Linked DNA regions of Homo sapiens: region 2 is linked to region 1. The links are contacts of gene promoters, found by promoter capture Hi-C in human tissues and cell types (Jung and others, 2019). All regions are on one chromosome and are shown on one strand. The core of a region is centred on a gene start or on the middle of the fragment in contact, and the rest is flanking DNA. Distances in the headings are between cores, read along the strand shown. Region 1 holds the start of RPS3 (ribosomal protein S3). Region 2 overlaps UVRAG (UV radiation resistance associated).

What was found. Contacts are between HindIII fragments. The study calls those that stand out against the background at their distance.
Region 2: a fragment that was not itself captured here is called in contact with the fragment with the promoter of RPS3 in region 1 in 1 of the 25 tissues and cell types used here (spleen).

The regions. Positions count from the first base shown.
Region 1 is chr11:75,395,866-75,400,868 of GRCh38, forward strand. It overlaps RPS3 (ribosomal protein S3), which reads left to right and starts at 3,653. Exons shown (of 7, transcript NM_001005.5): 1 at 3,653-3,712; 2 at 4,829-4,959. The coding sequence starts at 3,683. It overlaps SNORD15A (small nucleolar RNA, C/D box 15A), which reads left to right and starts at 4,526; the gene lies at 4,526-4,673. RefSeq lists enhancers at 3,630-3,989, 4,216-5,003. The HindIII fragment of the contact is 8,937 bases long and covers 1-5,003 here.
Region 2 is chr11:75,846,929-75,851,605 of GRCh38, forward strand. All of the region lies in intron 1 of UVRAG (UV radiation resistance associated), which reads left to right. Among named protein-coding and RNA genes, the nearest start is that of UVRAG, 34 kb to the left of the region's middle. The HindIII fragment of the contact is 5,005 bases long and covers 1-4,274 here.

The sequences.
Region 1 (5,003 bases), core at 2,403-4,902:
CTAGAGCAAGGTCTTAAGGAAACAGAACTAAACTGGGACCAGAACACAATGGGAAGGCTGGCCTTGGGAAGAAAGAGGGTCTCTTTCCTAAGCCAGGAAGGAAGGAGGAAAGGATAGCCAGGGACACATGGGATTATAGGATGGGCGGGAGGCAGTTTCTGGTTGTGCAATCTATTAGGGGGGCAAGGGACTAGGAGGGAGGTTGACTATTGAAAGTGAGGAGGAGGTTCTGGGGTTCTAGCTTTGTCAAAGATTATAATAGGGACCGTGGGAGAATGTGAGGCATATGGGAATGAAAAATAGAAGCGATTCACTGAGAGGGTCTAGGAGCCTGCTGTGATTTTACTCTGATCCCAGCACGCAAGGCCAGGTGCTCTCCCTCAGCGCCCACATCTCTAGTGAATCCATAGGCAGGTGGATTTACCAGGCTCATGTTTTCAGCAACCTGGCCCCACTCTATAGACAGACCAAGGAGTTGGATGAAGAGGCACATGAAGAGCAGAGAGAGATAACAGATGGATGGGGGGTGGGGGGGGGAAGAAAAACAACTTATTCCTAGGTTCCTCATCTTGGTAAGGATTGTCGCCAAGCATTCACAACTGAAGTCAGAAACTAGGGCTTCTGCTGGGCACAGTGCTTCACGCCTGTAATCCCAGCACTTTGGGAGGCCGAGGTGGGTGGATCATCTGAGGTCAGGAGTTCGAGACCAGCCTGGCCAACATGGTGAGACCCTGTCTCTACTAAAAACACAAAAATTAGCCAGTGGTGGTGCATGCCTGTAATCCCAGCTACTCGGGAGGTTGAGGCAGGAGAATCGCTTGAACCCAGGAGGCAGAGGTTGCAGTGAGCCGAGATTGCGCTACTGCACTCTAGCCTGGACAACAAAGGGAAACTTTGTCTCAAAAAAAAAAAAAAAGATAGATCCACAGCTACCATCTCTTTGGTTCTTTGGTTCATCCACTTCTTTTCCTTTCTTTTCTTTTTTTTTCTTTGAGACGGGGTCTCGCTCTGTCACCCAGACTGGAGGGCAGTGGCTTTGACCATGGCTTACTGCAATTCCACCTCTCGGGTTCAAGTGACTCTCATGCCTCAGCCTCCCAAGTAGCTGGGATTACAGGCGTGCACCACCACACTAGGCTAATTTTTGTATTTTTAGTAGAGATGGGGTTTCACTATGCTGGCCAGGCTGGTCTCAAACTCACGACCTCAGGTGATCCACCTGCCTCGGCCTCCCAAAGTGCTGGGATTACAGGCATGAGCCACCGCGCCCATCCACTTTTTGTCATCTTCCCTGGTCCCTCTGCTCAGCAACCACAGAACTCTGTTAATTCCGTGATTATAGGACAGGTCACTTTACATCAGAGTTGTTTTAGAGCTGGAGTTAAACACTCCAATGGCTTCTAGGACCAGAAAATAACTGAGTGGTGCTGCCAGGGAGTGTGGCACCTTGGAAAGACTCTTTTTGTGTAACAGGAAAGGAGAGCACTGCCCATGAAGAAATGTGGGTTCACTATTTTGCTAGATATTTCTATATCCTTAAGAAAAACCTAAAATAGTTTTAGAGAGAAATACCCTGACTTTTAAATGAAGAAAACTATTCAAACTTAAAATAAAACTGTTGGCTGGGTGCGGTGGCTCACGCCTGTAATCCCAGCACTTTTGGAGGCCGAGGTGGGCGGATCACAAGGTTAGGAGTTCAAGACAAGCCTGGCCAACATAGTGAAACCCTATCTCTACTAAAAATATGAAAATTAGCTGGACATGGCGGTGCTTGCCTGTAGTCCCAGCTACTCAGGAGGCTGAGGCAGGAGAATCGCTTGAACCCGGGAGGTGGAGGTTACGGTGAGCGGCGATCGCACCACTGCACTCCAGCTTAGGCAACAGAGTAAGACTTCGTCTCAAAAATAAATAAATAAATAAAATAAAACTGTTATTGAAGTGTTTAGGGGTAAAGTTTACCAATGTCTGCAACTTACTTTGAAATGCCTCAAAAGATGTATTGGTGGGTGGCTACAGGGATGAGTAGATCCACGATAAAGCAACAGCAAAATATTAATTGTAGCATCATTCTCAATTCCCCCTCAGCTTGGTGATGCATACACGTACAGTTTTTTCAACTGTTCTGTAAGCTTCATTAAAAAATGAAGGGACATTTTTAATTTTTTATTTTTTTTAGACTGAGTCTCACTCTGTTGCCCGGGCTGAGTGCAGTGGCACAATCACGGCTCACTGCAGCCTAGACCTCCTGTACTCAAGCAATCCTCTCACATCTCCCTCCAGAGTAGCTGGGACTACAGGCACACACCACCACACCTGGATAATTTTCTTTTTTCACTTTTCATAGAGATGAGGGTGTCTCATTCTGTTGCCCAGACTGGTCTCAAACTTCTGGCCTCAAGCTATCCACTTGCCTTGGCCTCCCAAAGTGCTAAGATTACAGGCCTGAGCCACTGCACCTGGCTAGAATTTTTTTTAATTGAAAAAGAAGGCCAGGCACGGTGGCTCATGCCTGTAATCCCAGCACTCTGGGAGGCTAAGGCAGGTGGATCACTTGAGGTCAGGAGTTCAAGACCAGCCTGGCCAACATAGTGAAACTTCATCTCTACTAAAAATACAAAAATTAGCTGGGTGTGGTGGTGTGCACCTGTAATCCCAGCTACTCAGGAGGCCAAGGCAGAAGAATCACTTGAACCTGGGAAGTGGAGGTTGCAGGGAGCTGAGATCGTACTACTGCACTCCAGCTTGGGCAACCGGAGAGAAAAGAAAGAAAGGAGAGAAAGAGAGAGAGAAAGAGAGAGGAAGGAAGGAAGGAAGGAAGGAAGGGCGGGCCCATGGGACCTTCTGGGACTTCTGTTACAAATTGTAATGGACTTGATGAAAGTAAGGTGGGGTAAATGAGAACAACATAAAGGACACAGAACGCAGTCCCTAGGACACTTAGTAAGTATCAGGTTTTATTATTATCATTTGGAATGGAGGAAATGGGTACAGACTGGGGGACATGAGTTGTTTTGTTTGTTTGTTTGTTTGTTTGTTTGAGACAGAGTCTCACTCTGTGGTCCAGGCTAGAGTGCAGTGGTAGGATCTTGGCCCACTGCAACCTCCATCTCCCAGGTCCAAGCAATCCTCCCACCTCAGCCTCCCGAGTAGCTGGGATTACAGGTGCCCGACACCACTCCCAGCTAATTTTTCTATTTTTAGTAGAGACGGGGTTTCACCATGTTCGCCAGGCTAATCTCGAACTCCTGACCTCAAGTAATCCGCCCGCCTTGGCCTCCCAAAGAGGAGTCTTAAATGAGTTTCACTGAGGGATTTCAGCAGATTTTCATTACAGTGTCCACCCTGAAAGTGTAGGGGCCAGAGTTCCACGCTGGTTAATCTCTCTTGCTGTGTGAACTTATACCTGTAATTTCCACCTCTGCACCTCACATTGCTTGTTTTGAAACTATGAGAATTGAACTCTAAGGTCCCCTGAAGTTTAGAAGTCCTGCTGGATGAAGCCCCTTTCCTGTTCCTGCCTACATTCTTCTTTCCCTGGACGCCTTACTTACGTAAAAACTACATTTCCCATGAGCACCCACAGGCGTGCACGCAGCGCAGCCCTCCGTCGTCGCTCGCGCCCTTTATACTCACTTCCGCCCGCGAGCCACTTCCTTTCCTTTCAGCGGAGCGCGGCGGCAAGATGGCAGTGCAAATATCCAAGAAGAGGAAGGTGAGCCTCTGGGGACTGGGTTCGGAGAACGACGGCGCCGCGCGGGTCGAGGGCTTCTCGGGGTGCCACCGCGAGGCCTGCAGCTCCGTGGCCTGCCCTGGAAGCGGCCTAGGCTTCCTGGCGTTCCTGCGGGCCGCGGATGGCGGTGGATTGAGTGAGAGGCCCCAGCCAGGAGGGCGCTGTGTGGCCGGGTTCCAAGTGAAGCGCAGAGAGATGGGCACCAGGCGCCCCTTCTGTCCCGGAGAAGGCGTTTGTGAGCATTTGTCGGTCAACGGAATTAGTAAACGTGGTATTTTGAGGGCGTGTGTCATTTCCCTCATGTCTTATCCCGTGGTTTTGGGAAGAGAAGGCAGCAGTGTATTCTTGCCTTAACTGGTCGTTTCTGGGTACAGTCCGCTGGCCCCAGGACCTCAACTTGAAGGGTTGCTGACGGTTGCTTGCTCCGTCTGGGGACCCCGGGAGGAAGCTGCCTCGGATTTAACGCCTTGTCATTACATGGGATAGAACTGTGTAAAAATCATTAGCTTTAAAAATAGACAGTTTGTCATTTCGTATATACACTTCGATGTCAAAATTAAATCCACAACTTCTCGAGAGTTAGGATTTGCCAGCTCTGTTGGTACCGTAAAGCCAAATAACATGGCTGGGATTCTTTAGACGGTGCAGGTTGTGTCTACAAGTGAGAGAGCTTATATGTTAAGTCTACTATCTATTCCTTAACAGTGACAAGTACAGTGTCTTTGCTGTGCTGAATGAAGTGTAAATAGGCCATTAGAGCAGTTTCTTGTTTTGCATGTGGAACTGTTTTAAACCCTTCGATGAAGAGATGATGACGAGTCTGACTTGGGGATGTTCTCTTTGCCCAGGTGGCCTACTCTGTGCTGCGTTCTGTGGCACAGTTTAAAGAGCCCTGGTTGAAGTAATTTCCTAAAGATGACTTAGAGGCATTTGTCTGAGAAGGGTTGCTGCACTCCTGTTGGAACAAGGGTTTGGAACCATTGGTTGGAGGTATTTAGTTTTGGTGAGGGATGCATTGACTAATAAGACTAGACTGGCTCAGGCGAAAGTGAGCCTACACCGATCTCCTAATTTTGAACTTTGCTTTGTTTGGATTAGTTTGTCGCTGATGGCATCTTCAAAGCTGAACTGAATGAGTTTCTTACTCGGGAGCTGGCTGAAGATGGCTACTCTGGAGTTGAGGTGCGAGTTACACCAACCAGGACAGAAATCATTATCTTAGCCACCAGGTAAAACTCATTTGACTGGCCATCACCTATAATTGTTATAAATG
Region 2 (4,677 bases), core at 522-3,021, 450 kb after region 1:
TTCTCCTGCCTTAGCCTCCTGAGTAGCTGTGATTACAGGTGTGTGCCACCACGCCCGGCTAATTTTTTGTATTTTTAGTAGAGATGGGGTTTTGCCATGTTAGCCAGGCTACTCTCGAACTCCTGACCTCAGGTGATCCACCCACCTCGGCCTCCCAAAATGCTGGGATTACAGGTATGGGCCACCGTGCCTGGCCTGTTCTTTTGTTTTCTTGAGATGGAGTCTCACTCATTCTGTTACCCAGGCTGGAGTGCAGTGGCGTGATCTCGGCTTACTGCAACGTCCAACTCCGGGGTTCAAGTGAGTCTCCTGCCTCAGCCTGTCAAGTAGCTGAGATTACAGGTGTGTGCCACCACGCCTGGCTAACTTTTGTATCTTTAGTAGAGACGGGTTTCACCATATTGGCCAGGCTGGTCTTGAACTCTTGACCTCAAATGATCCACCCGCCTCGGCCTCCCAAAGTGCTAGTATTACAGGTATGAGCCACTGTGCCCAGCCCAGCTAATTTATTTTTATTTTTTCTAGAGATAGGGTCTCACTATGTTGTTGCCTAGGCTGATCTTGAACTCCTGGGCTCAAGTGATCCTCTTGCTTTGGCCTCCCAAAGTGCTGGGATTACAGTTATGAGCCACTGTGCCTGGCTCTGGAATGAACGTTATTAAAAAAGAAGGCCAGACCTAGGGCACAAGAGGGTTTACATGTACACTTACTGCCTTTTACCAAGATTGCATCAGTAATTTACCCATAAAGAGTTTATTAGCGACTGGGCACGGTGGCTCACGCCTGTAATCCCAGCACTTTTGGGAGGCTGAGGTGGGCGGATCACGAGGTCAGGAGATCGAGACCATCCTGGCCAACATGGTGAAACCCCGTCTCCACTAAAATACAAAAAATTAGCTGGGTGTGGTGGTATGCGCCTACAGTCCCAGCTACTCAGGAGGCTGAGGCTGGGGAAATGCTTGAACCCGGGAGGCGGAGATTGCAGTGAGCCGAGATCGCACCACTGCACTCCAGCCTGGCAACAGAGTGAGACTGTGTCTCAAAAAAAAAAAAAAGAAAAAAGGATTTATTAGCACGGGCAACATAGGGAGACTCTGTCTCTAAAAAAAAAAAAAAAAATTTAGCTGGGCATGGTGGCATATGCCTGTGGTCCCAGCTACTTGGGAGACTGAGGTGGGAGGATTGCTTGAGCCTGGGAGGTTGAGGCTGCAGTGAGCTACGATCTACCACTGTACTCCAGCCTGGGGGACAGAGAGAGACCCTGTCTCAAAAAAAAAAAAAAAGTTTCTTTCCTTTGTCCATTCCAGTTGCTGGAAGTATCTTGGATTTTAATTAATTATGGTATAATGAGAATACTTACCCTAATGCTTTTGAAATAAGTAAAATAAAGGAAAAGGGCAAAAAGTCATACAGCCCACAGTCAGTGCTTTAATTATAGTTGGTCAGTTTATGGAGTTTGTTTTTTGTAAACCTTTTTATAAAATGGTCTGAATGTGGTTTGTTCTGTTTATTCGCATTAATGGATTACACTGGTAATCACCCAGATGAAAATCATAGAGTTTAGAATCAGAAGGTATCTTGGAGGTGGTCGTGCTAATTTCCCACAGTTGCTACATAATGCAGAGATCTCTTTGATAATAATATCCATGCATCTATTATAGATTCGATCTCCGTCCAAGCCCTGCACACTGCTTTGTAAGGCAGTCAATTCCATGGTAATTGCATGTGTCATAAAGTTATTCTTTTGAGTTGAAGAATTGGTTATTTCCTTGTGTTCTGTAGTAATAAAGGAGTATGAAGACAAATTATATCTTTTAGGTATATGTAGTATTTAGATGGAGATACATATCCACGTATATAGGATGTAATCCTTGGCTTTCTTTCTGCATTCTTTCCTTCTTTTGAGATATCTCCTGTCATTTATTATTTTCTTTGTTTTATATTTGGTTACTTAGAAATGTAAGACTAGGCTGGGTGTGGTGGCTCACAACTGTAATCTCAGCACTTTGGGGAGCTGAGGCAGGTCGATCACCTGAGGTCAGGAGTTCGAGACCAGCCTGGCCAACATGGTGAAACCCTGTCTTTACTAAAAATACAAAATTAGCCAAGTGTGGTGGCACATGCCTGTAGTCGCAGCTACTTGGGAGCGTGAGACAGGAGAATCACTTGAACCCAGGATGCGGAGGCTGCAGTGAGCCGACATGGCGCCATTGCACTCCAGCCTGGGCGAGACAGAGCGAGACTCCCTCTCAAAAGAAAAAAAAAATGTTGAGATAAAGAAATGAATAATGATGGACGGGCGGGTGGTGGCTCACACCTGTAATCCCAGCACTTTGGGAGGCCAAGGCGGGCGGATCACGAGGTCAGAAGATTGAGACCATCCTGGCTAACACAGTGAAACCCCCTCTCTACTAAAAATACAAAAAAATTAGCCGGGTGCCTGTAGTCCCAGCTACTTGGGAGGCTGAGGCAGGAGAATGGCATGAACCTGGGAGGCGGAGCTTGCAGAGAGCCGAGATTGCGCCACTGCACTCCAGCCTGGGCGACAGAGCGAGACTCCATCTCAAAAAAAAAAAAAAATTAATGATAATGAGTAATAGTTAACCTTGTAGGGTTGTTATGAGAATTAAATGTTCACATGTATGAAGCACATATTTAGCACAGTACATGACACAAGGTAAACATTTAATAAATGCTGACAGTACAGTGATGGTTGTGGTTTCTATCAAGCCTTTTAATGCTAGATTAATAGGGAAGATAACGGTAAACAATTAACTATAATAAAGGCCGAACAAAATAAGTGCTATAGTAGAGATAGAAGCAAAGTTCTTACTTGTCCTAATAAGGGAGCAACTAATTTTGTTACTGGTAGCGGGTCTTGACTGAAAGTTCTCCAGGTTCTAGGTGTTTTGAACAAAGAATTGGACAAAATTAACAGCAAAGCAAGCAAAGAGTGAAGCAATGAAAGCAGAGATTTATTGAGAATGAAAGTACATTCAGCAAGGTGGGAGTGGGCCTTGCAGCCCCTGGAGAGCCCCCTTACAGAATCTTCTAGGACCCACATACCCCCAGAGGTTTCCCATTGGCCACTTGGTGTTCACACCATGCAAATGAAGTGGTGGCCTGCAATCAGTCTGATTGGTTGCAGAAAGCAGCCAATCAGAGGCTGAAGTTACAAAGTTACACTCCTATGCAAGCATCTGATTGGTTATGGAAAGCACCCAGCCAGAATGGGGAGTTTGCAAAGGGTGTAGCCTTTGGTCCTTTTGTTATTTAGGCATGGAAAGTTGGGGTTTTCCTTTAGATTTAGTTCTAGGGTTGCCTTAGGTCCCTGGAGACCCTATTCTCCTGCCTCAATTTCAATTGGAAAATCAGGAAGGGCAGGAATCTTCTTTCCTAAACTTTGAAATATGCATAGGATCTCCTTAAAGAGCGGGATGGCATTGAGGTCTACCATCAGCAAATGCATGGAGCTAGGAAAGTTCATGGTCTTTTTGATGGACTTTAAGCAGTCATGTGTGACTGAGGGGTTGGGTATGTGGAAGAGCTGGTGGGAAGTAAGGATGGTATATAGAGAAGTTAGACTGTAGAGGGCTTTGAACACAATGATGGGATGTTTTTGTACATTATCCTAGATATTCCAGATGTTTTCAGGTCTTTGAACAGAGGAGCAGGATTGTAATCTTATAGCAAAATAGATGTGATTATTGTATGCAGATAATTAGTGGTTCCTGTTTTTAAAGTTTTGACTGAAAGGGCTAATGAAAAGTGTGTAGCAGGAGAAAATTGTTGCTGTAATCCAGGGTGTGAAATGGAAACCATTGGCAGATTGTGGAAAAATGAGTCTTTTAGAGTAAGCCCAGGAAACTTTTTGTAAATACATTTGAGGCTTTTCATACTTAGAGGATTAAACAAATTTATTAGACAATAACCTTCTCTCTCAAAGAATCTTAATCTCTAGATTGGGAGAAAGGATTGGGTTGGTATGTGCACGGGAAAAAGACCTGGGCTCTTTTGGCTGACTGTGCCTGTAATTGAAAGTGGACTTACCTCAGGAGAGTGAACTGGCTTTCAGCCTGCGGGAGAGCTTTAAGCACATTTTAAGTGTGAGCACTTGGTTTCTATTTTTAAGTCTCTGAAGATAATGATCTGACATAGGGAACTAGCTTTTGGGGATGAATCTGCTGTGCCCAGACTTCAGCGTTGCCAACATTCTCTTTTTGATATATGAGTTGATTTGGCTATCCCTTAAGCTTATTTTGTATTTTTGTTGATTTCTACTATTGCTTATGAAGCTTTTCCATTTCTAAACTTATGATTTCAAATCATTAAAGAGTCTGGTTGGAGAAATTGTTAGGAAGGAGGCCTGATTATGAAATTGAGACTGGTGAAATGAGAATCGAATGGAAGCTCACAGCAGTTGCTTTATTGGCTGGATGGGGTGGATGGAGTGACCAGTGAGTCACTATTTTTATTTTTTGGCTGTGGCCTTGTTTTCCTGCTTGTATAGATAATCTGGCATCTAGACTGAACTAGCATCAGGGGTGAGTGTATGTGTTAACTGGTGATTATCTGTTGGTATGAGATGGATTTTATATGTCTATCAGAATCCCTCTGTGGAGAAAACCAAATTACTACTTAGTTTATGTTCCAGGGAATACTAATGCTATTATGCGG